3 separate regions of the Homo sapiens genome follow, and regions 2 and 3 are each linked to region 1. Evidence: promoter capture Hi-C in 16 types of primary human blood cells and fetal thymus (Javierre and others, 2016). All regions are on one chromosome and are shown on one strand. Each heading gives the region's core, a stretch centred on a gene start or on the middle of the fragment in contact. The rest is flanking DNA. Distances are from core to core; before and after follow the strand shown. Region 1 holds the start of CD58 (CD58 molecule). Region 2 overlaps LOC105378927 (a long non-coding RNA gene). Region 3 has its middle 68 kb from the start of PTGFRN.

Region 1 (4,484 bases), core at 952-3,451:
TCAAGACACCAGAGAGTGGCATGCTAGGAAGAACAGCCCCGGCCTCTTCAGCTGCCCTCTTTTCTTACTTTCTCATCCATGATTATCTACAGTGACAAGAAGATAAAACTGGACCTTGCAATACTAGTCACAGCATGAAAAATACATCCACCCCTCCTTTTGATAGCAGGTTCTCAGTATGTAAAGGGAATCTTTTTGGCTGCCTGCTTAACGCATTGCAGGTCCAGCATTCCTGAGCTGCTTTTGATTCATAAAATTAACCAGGCATTTGAGGGCTTCTAAAAGTGCTTGATGGACAGCATTTCTCTCAATGAAAGAGCAGGCACTGCTCCTTGGTCAAAGGAGAGTCCAACCAAGGAAGCCTAATGAGTTATTCCTCACCCAATACCTGGAGACCATGACCTGGGGGTGAGGGGCTTCCCCAGCCCCATGTGACTGGGCTGTTCTTTCCTCAGCCCTGCTCTTAAGGGGCTTAACAGCTCTTGCTGGCAGTCCAAATGGCTGCATAGCTGTCAGTCCAAAAGTCCCATTATCATATCCCGTTCCTGTATGAAGGGATAAGAGTAGAGGCATTGGACATGGCCTCAGCTGGACTCCAAGTTCTGCCCTTTACTGTGTGCCCTGAGTAATTTACCTTCCCCAGGCATCAGTTTCCTCATTTGCAAAAACAACAGCAGCAGTAAGACTAAGTTAATCCAAGCAATGCACTTCACACAGGGCCTGCTCAATAGATGTTTGCTGTCATATCACTTCCCAGCTCAAAAACTTTCTGTGGCTCCCCAGTGTCTGAAGGTCTAACCCCATCCTGCCTTTCTAAGTTGGCCTGAGTTCCTACCAGCCCAGGGCAGAGAACACTTGATTTCCTCATATTTTATGTTACACACTGCCCCTGCCTTGTGTTCCCAGTATCTACAGATGGTAGGGAATATCTCGAGATAGCAGGTTTGTGGTAGAGGGCATTGGTCCCAGAAGTTTCACTGATAGAGATACCTTTTAAGATTTTATGGCTAACTTAAGAAATAATTCATGTCTCTTTGCAATATGGTTCAAGTGTCTTGAGTGACTTCGAGTCCCCACCTGGGGATAATGGAGGTGAAGCAGCAAGAAAGCACATTCCCACTCAGTTTCACAACCTGCACCATGTATGTGTTGGTGGTTATTTGGGCAGCAGGGAGTCCTGTTCATGGAAATGGATTCCTGCTCACATAATAACTAAGAGTTCTGTGAACTCCCTCAGCTGGGCAGGGGCAACTCTGGTGCTTCTGTCTGCAAGAAAGGGGACAGACAGGGAGGCTGATGTGAGGAGCTGGTTCTGGGAATAGGGTCATTTGTTCTGGGATATAGGGATGTGAGGGGAGGGCCAGCTCAATCCAGACTGATGAAGAGCGGGGAGAGTGATGAGTGCCTGCCTCAGCTTGGGCTGGATGGATGTGGGGAGGCTGGGCAGTGAGGGAGATGTGGATCTGACATCTCAGCCTGAGGGAAAGTCCCGGTTGAGATGGGGGAAGACAGAAAAAGAGGAATCTGAGAAGGGAGAAACCAAAGGCTGGAAATCCCAGCTCCGGGGATAAGGGAGTATGGGGACGGGGGAGGCCTGCCTCAGGTAACCCTACGCCTAACAGTTGTCTAAAATGCTCCCTTTCCTTGTCATGTTTGAGGAAAAGTGGTTCAAAGAGGCCGTCTGATGCGGGATCACACAGCGCTGAAGGGATGAGGGGCCCCGGGTGCTCCCGCCCGTCCTGCTGCCTCCTCCGGTGGCTCTCTGGGAGCCACAGCCCCGTCTAGCCACGGAGGGGCCTACAGCACGCCCCAAACGCTAAGGGGAAGCGCGGGAGGTGCGGTAGGAAGGCAGAGAAACCTGGTTTTTAAAACCAAGCCATTTTCAAGGAAAGAATTTCTTACTTTAAAACCTTGGTTTTTAAAACCAAGCCATTTTCAAGGAAAGAATTTCTTACTTAAAAATAGCGTATGGAATGGCGGCGGAATGACGGGAGGGACCGAGCTGGGGGACTGGACGGCGCCCCGGGGACACAGGAAGGAGGCGCGCAGAGCCGAGGCCAGAGGCGCGCCCGGGGAGTGGAAGCGCGAAGACAAACGCGGCGCCGCGGAGGGTGGGGGAGGAAGGGCCGGGGCGGGCCGCCGGCTGCCAGCCCAGGGCGGGGCGGAGCCCTACTTCTGGCCGACCGCGTAGGCGGTGCTTGAACTTAGGGCTGCTTGTGGCTGGGCACTCGCGCAGAGGCCGGCCCGACGAGCCATGGTTGCTGGGAGCGACGCGGGGCGGGCCCTGGGGGTCCTCAGCGTGGTCTGCCTGCTGCACTGCTTTGGTGAGTGAAGCCTGCCCCAGGGGCCCCGCGCCGGCCGGCGGGTACTGGGCAGCACCCAGGCTGGGTGGACGCGCCGGGCTCGAGGCGGTTGCCGATCAGAGACGGGTGGGGACGGGTCGCTGTGGGCCGGGAACAACTCAGCCGTGGGAGCCTTTTCAGGAAGAGAAAGTTGTTATTTCATCGCCAGTGTCCCTCATGGAGTCAGCAAGGAACTGTGTGGCCTTAGGGAAGGACGGGCTCCGGCCCGCTAGCCTCTCCTGCGGGGCCTGCGCCCCCCCGCCGGCCCCCTCCCGAGCTCCAGTGACCAAGTTCCTTCCTGGGCTTCCCCAGTAACGTCGCTGAGCGCTTCAGCGGACTGCAAAATTTTTCCCAGCCGTGAACGCGCCCGGGACGGGGAGCGGGCGCGGATGCCACCTGCTCGAGGGCGACGCCTGCTGCCCTCCCCGCGCGGTGCCGTCCCCGCCCGCGCGGCGTCCGCCGTATCAGCAGAGAGGACTTTTCAGAATCGCCCCACAGCGAGGAGCGGGTAGGCAACTAGGAAGCCCAGTCGGCAGCGGCCTCACGTTGGGATTCCTAAGTGGTGCGACTCCTGCTCCTTTTTCCTCCCCTCAAATCCTAAAAACTAGTATCAGAACTGGTTCCATCCTCTCCGTGTGTTGTCAGCCAAGTCGTCACAACAACCTCAGGAAATAGGTCCCCTTCTTCCCATTTTGCCTCCCCATCCTCCTTCACCCTCCACACATTGGCCCCAGTCAGGCCATAGCAAAACCCCGGGAGTACAGCAGTAACCTCCCAGCGAGTTCAACTGTACTTGAGGGGTTCTCATGGCTGGCTCCTGCACCCCACTGCCAGCCCTCCAGCCCGTCCGTCCGTTTGCTCAGCGTCCGCTGCCTGCCCGGGAGGTGCGCGTGTGCATCTATGGAAGACAGCCAAGGGGGAGGGGTTGAGATAGACTCAAAAGTACCCGCACGATCAGATAAGTCAGTGTTGTAAGAGGCCTGGGCTGGGCGTGGTGGCTTACACCTGTCATCCTAGCACTTTGGGAGGCTGAGGCAGGTGGATCACTTGAGGCCAGGAATCGGAGACCAGCAGGGCCAACACGGTGAAAGATCGGCTCTACAAAAAATACAAAAATTAGCTGAGCGTGGTGGCGCATACCTATAGTCCCAGCTACTCGGAAGGCTGAGGTGGGAGAATCACCTGAGTCCCGGAGGCAGAGGATGCAGTGAGCTGTGATTGTGCCACTGAACTCCAGCCTGGGTGACAGAATATGACCTGTCTCAAAAAAAAAAAAAAAAAAAAAAGGTGAGCTGTGAGGGTACAGAGGGAAGAAGAAGGCAGTCTCTTTTGTGAAATCAAGTGTCTTTTGTGAAGCAGTCTTCATGGGAGGGAGGATATTTGAGCCCAGCCTTCAAGGACTGGTGATGTGTGGACATGTGATAATGTGGGAAAAGATTGCTGAGTGTCCCCTTAGGGAGTCTGGATTCTCTGAGCTGAGAGAGCTTCTCCTGGGCCTTACAGGATCAGGACCATGCGCCTGGGAAGAAGAATCTGTTAGCAACAAAGAGGAAGGCTGCAGTCAGGAGGAATTGGAGGCAGGGAGGCCAGAAGGCCAGGGTGGACTACCATCACAGGGCCCAAATAGCTCTGGGGAGTTCATGTGCGGGTGGCTGGGGAAAAGAAGAGATACAAACAGGGATTAATTGAATGGATGGGGTAACTCTCCTCCAGGCAAGCTGGTCCCTCATTCCCTGGCACCTTGGGTCACTGCTGCCTGTACCTGTGTTCTCCCTTCCACTGCAAACCCAGTTTGCCCAAGCTCCACCTCCAACAGATTATTTGAACTGTCCCTTCCTGGTGATCTCTCTCACCTAATTCATGTATTCATTCAGAAGTCATTTGATTCAGCAAACATGTATTTATAAACTGCTCTGCATAGGCCTTAAACTAAAGACAAGACTGAATGGGTATATCCCCTTTTGGGGACCCAAGCCTGCCTCATTAGGGAAGCTGCAAATGCAGTGATTAACAGCATCAGCTCTGGGGTCAGATGCCTAGCTTTGGATCCTGGCCCCACTCCTCACCTGAGTCATGAACTTGTGTGAGTTCCCTAACTTCTCTTCACTTCAGTACCTTCACTTTTGAAGAGAGTACCACTCA
Region 2 (4,484 bases), core at 905-3,404, 310 kb before region 1:
GTCTTAGCACCAACACTGGTGTGGCAGGGTACACAGTTAGTATTAATTCCAATGATGTTGATGTCTTTAGTCTACCAAGCAGTGGGGATAGCTGCCAGTGGGGGTGGCAGTAGTTGTAATGTTTGTTCATGAAAGTTGAAAACATCTGGCTGGGCACAGTGTCTCATGCCTGTAATCCTAGCACTTTGGGAGGCCGAGATGGGCAGATCACCTGAGGTTGGGAGTTTGACACCAGCCTGGCCAACATGGTGAAACCCCATTTCTACTAAAAATACAAAAATTAGCCAGGCGTGGTGGCACGTGCCTGTAATCCCAGCCACTGGGGAGGCTGAGGCAGGAGAATCACTTGAACCTGGGAGGCAGAGGTTGCAGTGAGCTGAGGTTGCGCCATTGTACTCCAGCCTTGGTGACAAGAGTGAAACTCCATCTCAAAAAAAAAAAAAGAAAGAAAGTTGAATACATCTGAGCCACCACTTCTCTCTGGCAGACAGCAGTAGGTTGTTTCACTGAGAATTATGAACAAGATAGTTATCCCTGGAGAGCTTATCTAGGAAGGGGTATCCTGGACAGGGCTGAAATTTCTGCTAGTAAAATGATTGTAGGCTCAATGTATCCAAGAGACTTCATTAGCTCTCCTCATTTGCTGGTATTCCAGCAGCCAAGATACAGAGAGAGGAAGTTTAAAAAAAAAAAAAACAGGAATTACTGGATGACCAGATCCATTTTATTACAGTGGGTAGTATAGGGATGAAATAGCAGGAGGGGAGGTTGAATAAGCAAGTTGCAGAGGGCCCAGAACATCAAGCTAAGGAGTTTCTTTTTGTTTTGTTTTTTGAGACAGGGTCTCACTCTGTCACCCACGCTGGAGTGCAGTGGCACAGTCATGGTTCACTGCAGCCTTGACTTCCCAGGCTTGAGTGATCCTCCTGCTTTAGCCTCCTGAGTAGCTGAGACCACAGGTGTGTGCCACAATATCCGGCTAATTTTTAAATTTTTTATAGAGACTGGGTCCCACTGTGTATAGAGACTGGGTCCCACTGTGTTGTCCAGGCTAGTCTTGAACTCCTGGCCTCAAACAATACTCCCACTTCAGCCCTGCAGAGTGCTGGAATTATGGATGTGAGCCACTGCGCCCAGTCAGGAGTTTCTTGCTTAGTGACTTCCAAGCTTTTTTTTTTTTTTTTTTTTTTTTGAGATGGAGTCCTTCTGTTACCCAAGCTGGAGTGCAGTGGTGTGATCTTGGCTCACTGCAACCTCCGCCTCCTTGGTTCAAGTGATTCTCATGCCTCAGCCTCCCGAGTAGCTGGGATTACAGGCTCATGCCACCATAGCCGACTAATTTTTGTATTTTTAGTAGAGATGAGATTTTGCCATGTTGGCCGGCTGGTCTCAAAGTCCTGACTTCAGGTATCCACCTGCCTCTGCCTCCCAGAGTGCTAGGATTACAGGAAGGAGGAACCACGCCTGGCCTTCTTCCAAGCATTTTTGATCATGTGACCCATTAGTATGAATTTTTTTTTAGCATTTTTCTGTCAAAATGAATACTTATCACTGCTGTACTAATATATGATGTACATCCTAAAACCTATTCAAGAATAGAAATTTAGCCAGATGAAGACAAATAATTATTAAATATAATTCTTTTTTTGGTACCCCAATAGATTTGTGTGCACACACCTGTGTTGGCAGCCACTGACTCAGACAACAGAAAAGGAGAGCCATGCTCTCAGAATAGGTGTGCTTAAGGTGGCATAGAAGGAACTGTAAGCCGGTAGAGTTTCAATGGAGTTCTTGATAGCTCTAGATCTGGGCAAGCACTGGCTCTCTCTGTGGTTTTATTACCAAGAGAATCTATTATTCAAGTGTGAACTCACCTGGATCCCTCCTCATTTTTCACATCTTTCTCCTTTCCCAGCTGTTCAGGGTTGGAATACTCATTGCATTGCTCCATATACTGAACAAATTGCACCGAGATCCGTAGACCTGCAACACTTCAAATAAAGGAAAATCATGTCTCATTCTGTCAAAGCTTTTTCTTGATCCAGCCTGAAAAGATATCCAGTTTGTCTTCTTCTTTTACCATGTGCTACAGCTTCTCTCTCATCACCAAAATCTTGATAGCTCCCTTTCTCTGGCGGCTTGTGTTGGAAACTCATGAATCACCCGATGGGCCAATACTGCTGCTCTGCGTAGGAGAATGTCTGAGAATATTGTGTAATATGCATTCAGCAGTGTGAATACGCACAGCTGTTGAACGTTAATTCTCTCGGCAAGCTTAAAAACACAAGTGCCAGTGCGTATTGAAGTTACAGTTCTGGCTGTTTGGTCCTTTTGTTTGTCCACAGTTGGTTGGAGAACATGGGCTTCCACTTTCCACCTGGTCCTGTGAAGGCTATCAGCCTATGCCCTTCTACTACTGCTACCTTAGTGGATGTGGCCCATTTCTTCACCTGCCAAGGTCAAGGACCTAGGTTCAACTAGTTATTCTAAGCCTAACAGGGGCAGGGAGTTGATAAGGACAGCAATGACTAAGCCAGAGCTTTGCTGCGACATTAGGGCAAGGCCAGCAGGGTGAGCAAGTGAGATGCTCAGGGCACAAAATGTAAGGAGGCCCTCATTCTCAGGGTCACACAAGTGCAGGGCCGGCACTTGCAAGTGATGCCTCCTTCAATTTTGCCCACTAGGCACCTCACTTGTCTCTCCCTAGTCCTGGCTTTCTTAAACCCCTTTGCCTGTCTGGATTGACTTAGCAACCAGGATTGAGCTTTCGGGATACGGGGAGAATGATAATTATTACCAGGGTTTAAGCTGAATCTCATCTTGTCTAAGCATACCCTAGATAGGGAGGTTTTCTCATTATTTCGGAAGGGCTGAGTCCAGATGGAGTTGGGAATACAGTCAGTGGTGATTCAGAGTTTTAGAAGTCTCGGCCAGGTGCGGTGGCTCACGCCTGTAACACCAGGACTCTGGGATGCCGAGGTGGGTGGATCACCTGAGGTCAGGAGTTCGAGATAAGCCTGACCAACATAATGCAACCCCATCTCTACTAAAAATACAAAAATTAGCTGGGTGTGGTGACAGGCGCCTGTAATCCCAGCTACTTGGGAGGCTGAGGCAGGAGAATCACTTGAACCCAGGAGGCAGAGGTTGCAGTGAGCCAAGATCGCACCATTGCTCTCCAGCCTAGGCAACAAGAACGGAACTCCGTTTCAAAAAAAAAAAAAAAAAAAAAAAGCAGTCTCTATCTGAGGCTAATGAAATATCGAGGTTAGGGGAAGATAAATAATTCCCGTCTCTTGCATATTCACACATGTCACCACAGCCCTTGGCAAGTGGACAGTAGCGGTCCCTCTGGTTACTGAGAACATTTGAATCATATGCCTGGGTCCTGTTGGTTTACGGAGCCCAAGCCTTTTGAGCTCTGACCAGTGGGCCATCTGTTACCAAGTTAAAAATGTTGACTCTGCAAGTCTGCTGCTCAGCCTCCTTGGCCTGTGTCTGTTACATACACCATTCTAGCACCTTGGCAGCAATACTCTGAGCGCAATTCCATTCACCATTTCATTCCTTCCAAGTCCTTCAGCAATGAATAGTACAGAATGAAATTCTTCCAGCTCATACACTTTTAACCTTTGCATAAACCTTAAGGATAAGCTAAAGGTTATCAAAATAGCTTCAATTGCACAGGTTAAACATCTCTCCTGCGTCTGGACGGTCAAGGCATTTGATAAAAGGAAAAAATGAGAGCAAAGAGTTTGTTTATTTTTCAAATTTTTAAGTGGAAACAATCTAAATGTTCAAAATAGGGAAGTAGCTAAGTCAATTATGGTACATCAACTTGAAGGAATGCTACCCAGCAATTAAAATGTCAGAAAATAACCTTATGAAAATACACTTATAATACAATGTTATAACATCAGGAAATAATCATAATACAGAATTATATTTCACTATATGGAACATGTGAGTGCAAGGATCAAAAAAGCATGCATATATAAAATCAGTTGCTTTGGGGTGGTAAGTTTAGTAGTGACTTCTTTTTCTCATTTGAACATGCTTTTAATGATGTTATTTACATAATGGTTATATAATGAATTTTTGATGTTTAAAGAATTCCTAAGCAATTTGGAAAAAATCAGATAATCTGATGAAGACTGGAGATTTGTTGTTGTCCAGTGACTGAGTAGATCCCAGTCTGAGAGGCCAGCACATGGGCTCTGAGTTCAAACTGTCTGATTTGAGACCATAACTTTGCCACTTTCTAGCTGTATTTTTACTTTTTATTTATTTATTTTTAAATTTTTATAGAGATGAGGTCTTACTATGTTGCCCAGGCTGGTCCCAAACTCCTGGGCTCAAGAAATCCACTTGTCTTGGCCTCCCAAAGTGCTGAGATTACAGGCGTCAGCCATCGCACCCTGGCCACTGCCACTTTCTAGCTATATAACCTTGAGAATATTCTTACCTCCTCTGTCAAATGGAGA
Region 3 (4,484 bases), core at 930-3,429, 270 kb before region 1:
AGAAGAAGTTTTCCTCATCAACGATTTGCTTACTGTATGAATCAGAGTCCAGATAGGAGACAGAAACCACACGATGCTTAGAATAGGTAAATTTTATTTTATTTATTTTTTTGAGATGGAGTCTCACTCTGTCGCCCAGGGTGGAATGCAATGGCGTGATCTTGGCTCACTGCAACCTCTTCTTCCTGGGATCAAGAGATTCTCCTGCCTCAGCCTTCCTAGTAGCTGAGATTACAGGTGGCTGCAACCACACCCAGCTAATTTTTGTATTTTTAGTAGAGACAGAGTTTCACCATGTTGGTCAGGCTGGTCTCGAATTCCTGACCTCATTGATCCACCCGCCTCGGCCTCCCAAAGTGTTGGGATTACAGGTGTGAGCCACTGTGCCTGGCCTTAAAATAGGTAAATTTTAACATAAATTATTAAATAGAGATTAAGGAACTCTAAAGAATACAGGAATAGCAGAAACAGAGAACAGCCACTACTTCTAGAGTGCAGTCAGAGCACTCAAGGAAATAACAAACTGGAAGACAGTCCCTCATTCCCAATGATGGAGAGAGTGTGACTGTTCCATGGAGAGTGGAGATTGAATAGTGGAGATGTTCACTGAAGTACCTTAGGCTAGAGCTGGCAAGCAGGGAAATGCCCTGTGTTAGTCAGGGTTCTCCAGAGGGACTAATAGGATAGATGTATATATGAAAGGGAGTTTATTAAGGAGAATTGAGTCATGTGATCACAAAGTAAAGTCCCATCTGCAAGTTGAGGAGCAAGGAAGCCATTGGTGGATCAGTCCAAGTCCCAAAACCTCAAAAATAAGGAAGCTGACGGTGTAGTCTTCAGTCTGTGGCCAAAGGCCTGAGAGCCCCTGGCAAATCACTGGTGTAAGTCCAAGAGTCCAAAAGCTGAAGAACTTGGAGTCTGATGTTCAAAGGCAGAAAGCATTCAGCACAAGAGAAAGAAGAAGGCCAGAAGACTCGGCAAGCCTGCTTGTCTATCTTCTCCTGCCTGCTTTATTCTAGCTGCGCTGGCAGCTGATTAGATTGTGCCCGCCAGATTAAGGGTGGGTCTGCCTTCCCCAGCCCACTGACTCAAATGTTAATCTCCTTTGGCAACACCCTCACAGACACACCCAGAAACAATACTTTGCATCCTTTAATCCGATCAAGTTCACACTAAGTGTTAACCATCACATGCCCACTGTGGGGCTGACAAAGCTTGATAGAAAGTTCTCCACAAGGCCAGGCATGGTGGCTCATTCCTGTAATCCCAGCACTCTGGGAGGCCAAGATGTGCAGATCACCTAAGGTCAGGAGTTCAAGATCAGCCTGGCCAATATAGTGAAATCTGGTCTCTACTAAAAAATACGAAAATTAGCTGGGCATGGTGGCAGGTATCTGTAGTTCTAGCTGCTTGGGAGGCCGAGACAGGGAGAGTTGCTTCAACCCTGGAGGTGGAGGTTGCAGTGAGCAGAGATCATTCCACTGCACTCCAGCCTGGGCAACAGAGTGAGACTCCGTCTCAAAAAAAAAAAGTTATCCGCAAGTGTACTGCTAAAACTAACTGGGGCATCCGCCACACTGTTGGTCGTTGTGCACTGCAGGAGCAAGGAGGAAAGCACACTGAGCCAGAAAAACTCCTTCCTCCTGCAATTTCCCTCCAGCACCCTCCACTGGCAAAAATGTTTAACATTATGTCAGCTGTTGATAGGAGAAATGTTTACAGGGTACAGCACCAGAATTGCAAAGCAGAGCAAAGAGTGGGCTTTGAGCTGAGAGATAGCACATTGATACCTGGCATACTGTGAAGCATAGTTCATACAGGAAAGGCAGGACAAATGCTTGGTCTGTCCCTTTATTCTCCAGTTTTCTAAATAAGTTAGGGTCCTGGAAACTTCCAAAGAGTACTCTAATAATTTCTGTCGTAATTGTTTTAAAAGCATTATGAACTCATGAATTTAAACATGTTTGAAGTGTTCAATCTGCTACAGTTATTATTCTTTTTGATTGGTAGCATATATTTTTAACTGATCCAGTGTATAAAGAATGTATGCTATCTTTCCTTTAGTGTTTAGAGGAGGAAAGATGAAAAACTATCTCAAAGCTTCTGGACACAAAAATCCTTATAGCATAGATACTTATAACATAAAGGGATCAGAACTGGGAAGGTTTTTTTTCTGTTAGTTCAAGAATTACCCTGAAACATGTGAGAAATCTTGCCCTTGAATGCACACTAGCTATAAAGTAAGGAAAGGAAGCTTTCTTAATCACAGATAGTTAGCTTGTCAGAGCTTTCCAACTGACATGTCATAAGCCATATACATATTAATGCTTTCAGTGTGTGCTATGAGGTGACAAAGGTTGGGAAACACTGGATTAAATGACTGAGGCAAATTTTATGTTCTAAAGGTGGCTGAAACAACATTTTTCACCTCGTGTGCTCTTTCACAATGTGACCTTGTACTACTCCATCAAGAGGTAGAGCCTACTTCCCTTCCCCTTGAATCTAGTCTGTCTAATTATTCATTTGTAACCAATACAATGAAGTAGAAGTGTGCTACGTGATTTCTTCAGCCATGTCAGAAAAAGTCTTGCAGCTACTGCCTGGTTCTTATGAGATGCTTGTCCTGAGGGAAGCTAGATGCTAGGTATGAAGTCCAACTACCCTGAGTTAGCTATATGGGAAAGGCCACATGTGAGTTCCCCAGTTGACAGCTTAATCAGCCACCATCACCTGCCAATCATGTGAATGAGACATGCTGGACATCCAGTCCTGTTGAATCTTCAGATGACTTCAGCTCCAGGTAACATCTGACTGTAACCACAAGAGAGATGCCAAGTGAGAAGTCCTAGGCACAGCCTTTTCAAAATTTTTGACCCACAAAATCATGAGTGAAATAATATGGTAGTTTTGGTAAGGTGTAGTAGCTCATGCCTGTAATCTCAACACTTTGGGAGGCAGAGGCGGGTGGATCACCTGAAGTCAGGAGTTTCATACCAGCCTGGCCAACATGGTGAAACCCCATCTCTGCTAAAAAAATTAGCCAGGCATGGGGGCAGGTGCCTGTAATCTCAGCTACCCAGGAGGCTGAGGCAGGAGAATTGCTTGAACCTAGGAGGTGGAGGTGACAGTGAGCCGAGATCCTGCTACTGCACTACAGCCTGGGCAGCAGAGCCAGACTCTGTCTCAAAAAAAAACTAAAAAAAGGCTGGACACGGTGGCTCACGCCTGTAATCCCAGCCCTTTGGGAGGCCGAGGCAGGTGGATCACGAAGTCAGGAGTTCAAGACCAGCCTGGCCAAGATGGTGAAACCCTGTCTCTACTAAAAATACAAAAATTAGCCAGGCGTGGTGGTGGGCACCTGTAATCCTAGCTACTCGGGAGGCTGAAGCAGGGAATTGCTTGAACCTGGGAGGCAGAGGTTGCAGTGAGCCAAGATCGGGCCACTGCACTCCAGCCTGGGCGACAGAGCGAGACTCTGTCTCAAAAACAAACAAACAAACAAACAAACAAAACAACAACAAAAAAACCCCACAAAATAATATAGTAGTTTTAAGGTGTTGTTTTGGACTAATTTATATCTCAGAAATAGTAGCTGGAATAAAGACCTCAAAGGCCTTCCCTACGTAGGTGACAGATCAAGATTGCATGTATACTTATGCATTATATGTACTATACAGAAGAGATTTTATAAATAAGGACCTAGTTCTTCTAGGCTCTGATCTGAGGGTCCCTCGAGTCCGCGGGCAAGCCCTGGTCATTTTTTGATAGGCGTCAAGTATCCTGAGTCACCTGTCTCGTCGTCTGGTATGACCTACTACACTTTCCAGGGCACTTATTGGAGTTTGAAGTTCTTCACTCATTCTGGCTAATAGCAGAAGAGGACCAGTGGCTTTCCTTCTAACATATCCCGTTATTTTAGCTGTTAGAAGAATATGTGGTTCTTGCAGAGGCAACGGGATGTGGAAGAAGGAGCATGAAATCTAGAGTCAAAAGACCTCGGCTCAAGATCCAATTAATTCACTTATAGCTGCATGACCTTAAAGAGTTTAACAGCCCTAGCCTCAGTTTCCCCATTTGAAAATAAGAAAAATAATTTGTGTCTCATAGAGATGTTGTGAGGATTAAATGAGACAATATTTATGAAACCCTAGGAGTTTCAACCAGTTTGTTTGCATTTCTTTTATTATTTTTATGCCTTTTCATTTTATTTTTAGAAAATTAAAAAATATAGAAAGTACAAAAAAGAAAAGAAGTATCATTCATATTCTTACAACTGGGAATTACCACCATTAATATGGTGATTAATTTATTTCCAGTTCTTTTTTTTTTTTTTTTTTTGAGATGGAGTCTTGCACCGTTGCCTGGGCTGGAGTGCAATGGTGTAATCTCGGCTCACTGCAACCTCCACCTCTCCACCTCCTGAGTTCACACAATTCTCCTCCCTCAGCCTCCTGAGTAGCTGGGATGACAGTGCCCACCACCAC

Evidence for each region. The method cuts DNA at HindIII sites, captures the fragments that hold promoters and counts their contacts. A CHiCAGO score of 5 or more calls a contact.
Region 2: a contact is called between a fragment that was not itself captured here and the fragment with the promoter of CD58 in region 1, in 4 of 17 cell types (M1 macrophages, erythroblasts, M2 macrophages and 1 more). The highest score is 7.7, in M1 macrophages.
Region 3: a contact is called between a fragment that was not itself captured here and the fragment with the promoter of CD58 in region 1, in 3 of 17 cell types (M1 macrophages, M2 macrophages and M0 macrophages). The highest score is 8.2, in M1 macrophages.

What each region holds. Positions count from the first base shown.
Region 1 is chr1:116,568,743-116,573,226 of GRCh38, reverse strand. CD58 (CD58 molecule) reads left to right here and starts at 2,201. Exons shown (of 6, transcript NM_001779.3): 1 at 2,201-2,324. The coding sequence starts at 2,255. It overlaps LOC124904385 (a long non-coding RNA gene), which reads right to left and starts at 2,252. Exons shown (of 2, transcript XR_007066497.1): 1 at 2,174-2,252. RefSeq lists silencers at 2,000-2,459, 2,530-2,599 and an enhancer at 3,070-3,129. The HindIII fragment of the contact is 6,609 bases long and covers 1-4,484 here.
Region 2 is chr1:116,880,058-116,884,541 of GRCh38, reverse strand. It overlaps LOC105378927 (a long non-coding RNA gene), which reads right to left. Exons shown (of 3, transcript XR_001737804.2): 1 at 4,466-4,484; 2 at 1,875-1,991. Among named protein-coding and RNA genes, the nearest start is that of PTGFRN, 28 kb to the left of the region's middle. The HindIII fragment of the contact is 245 bases long and covers 2,032-2,276 here.
Region 3 is chr1:116,840,014-116,844,497 of GRCh38, reverse strand. No RefSeq gene overlaps it. Among named protein-coding and RNA genes, the nearest start is that of PTGFRN, 68 kb to the left of the region's middle. The HindIII fragment of the contact is 154 bases long and covers 2,103-2,256 here.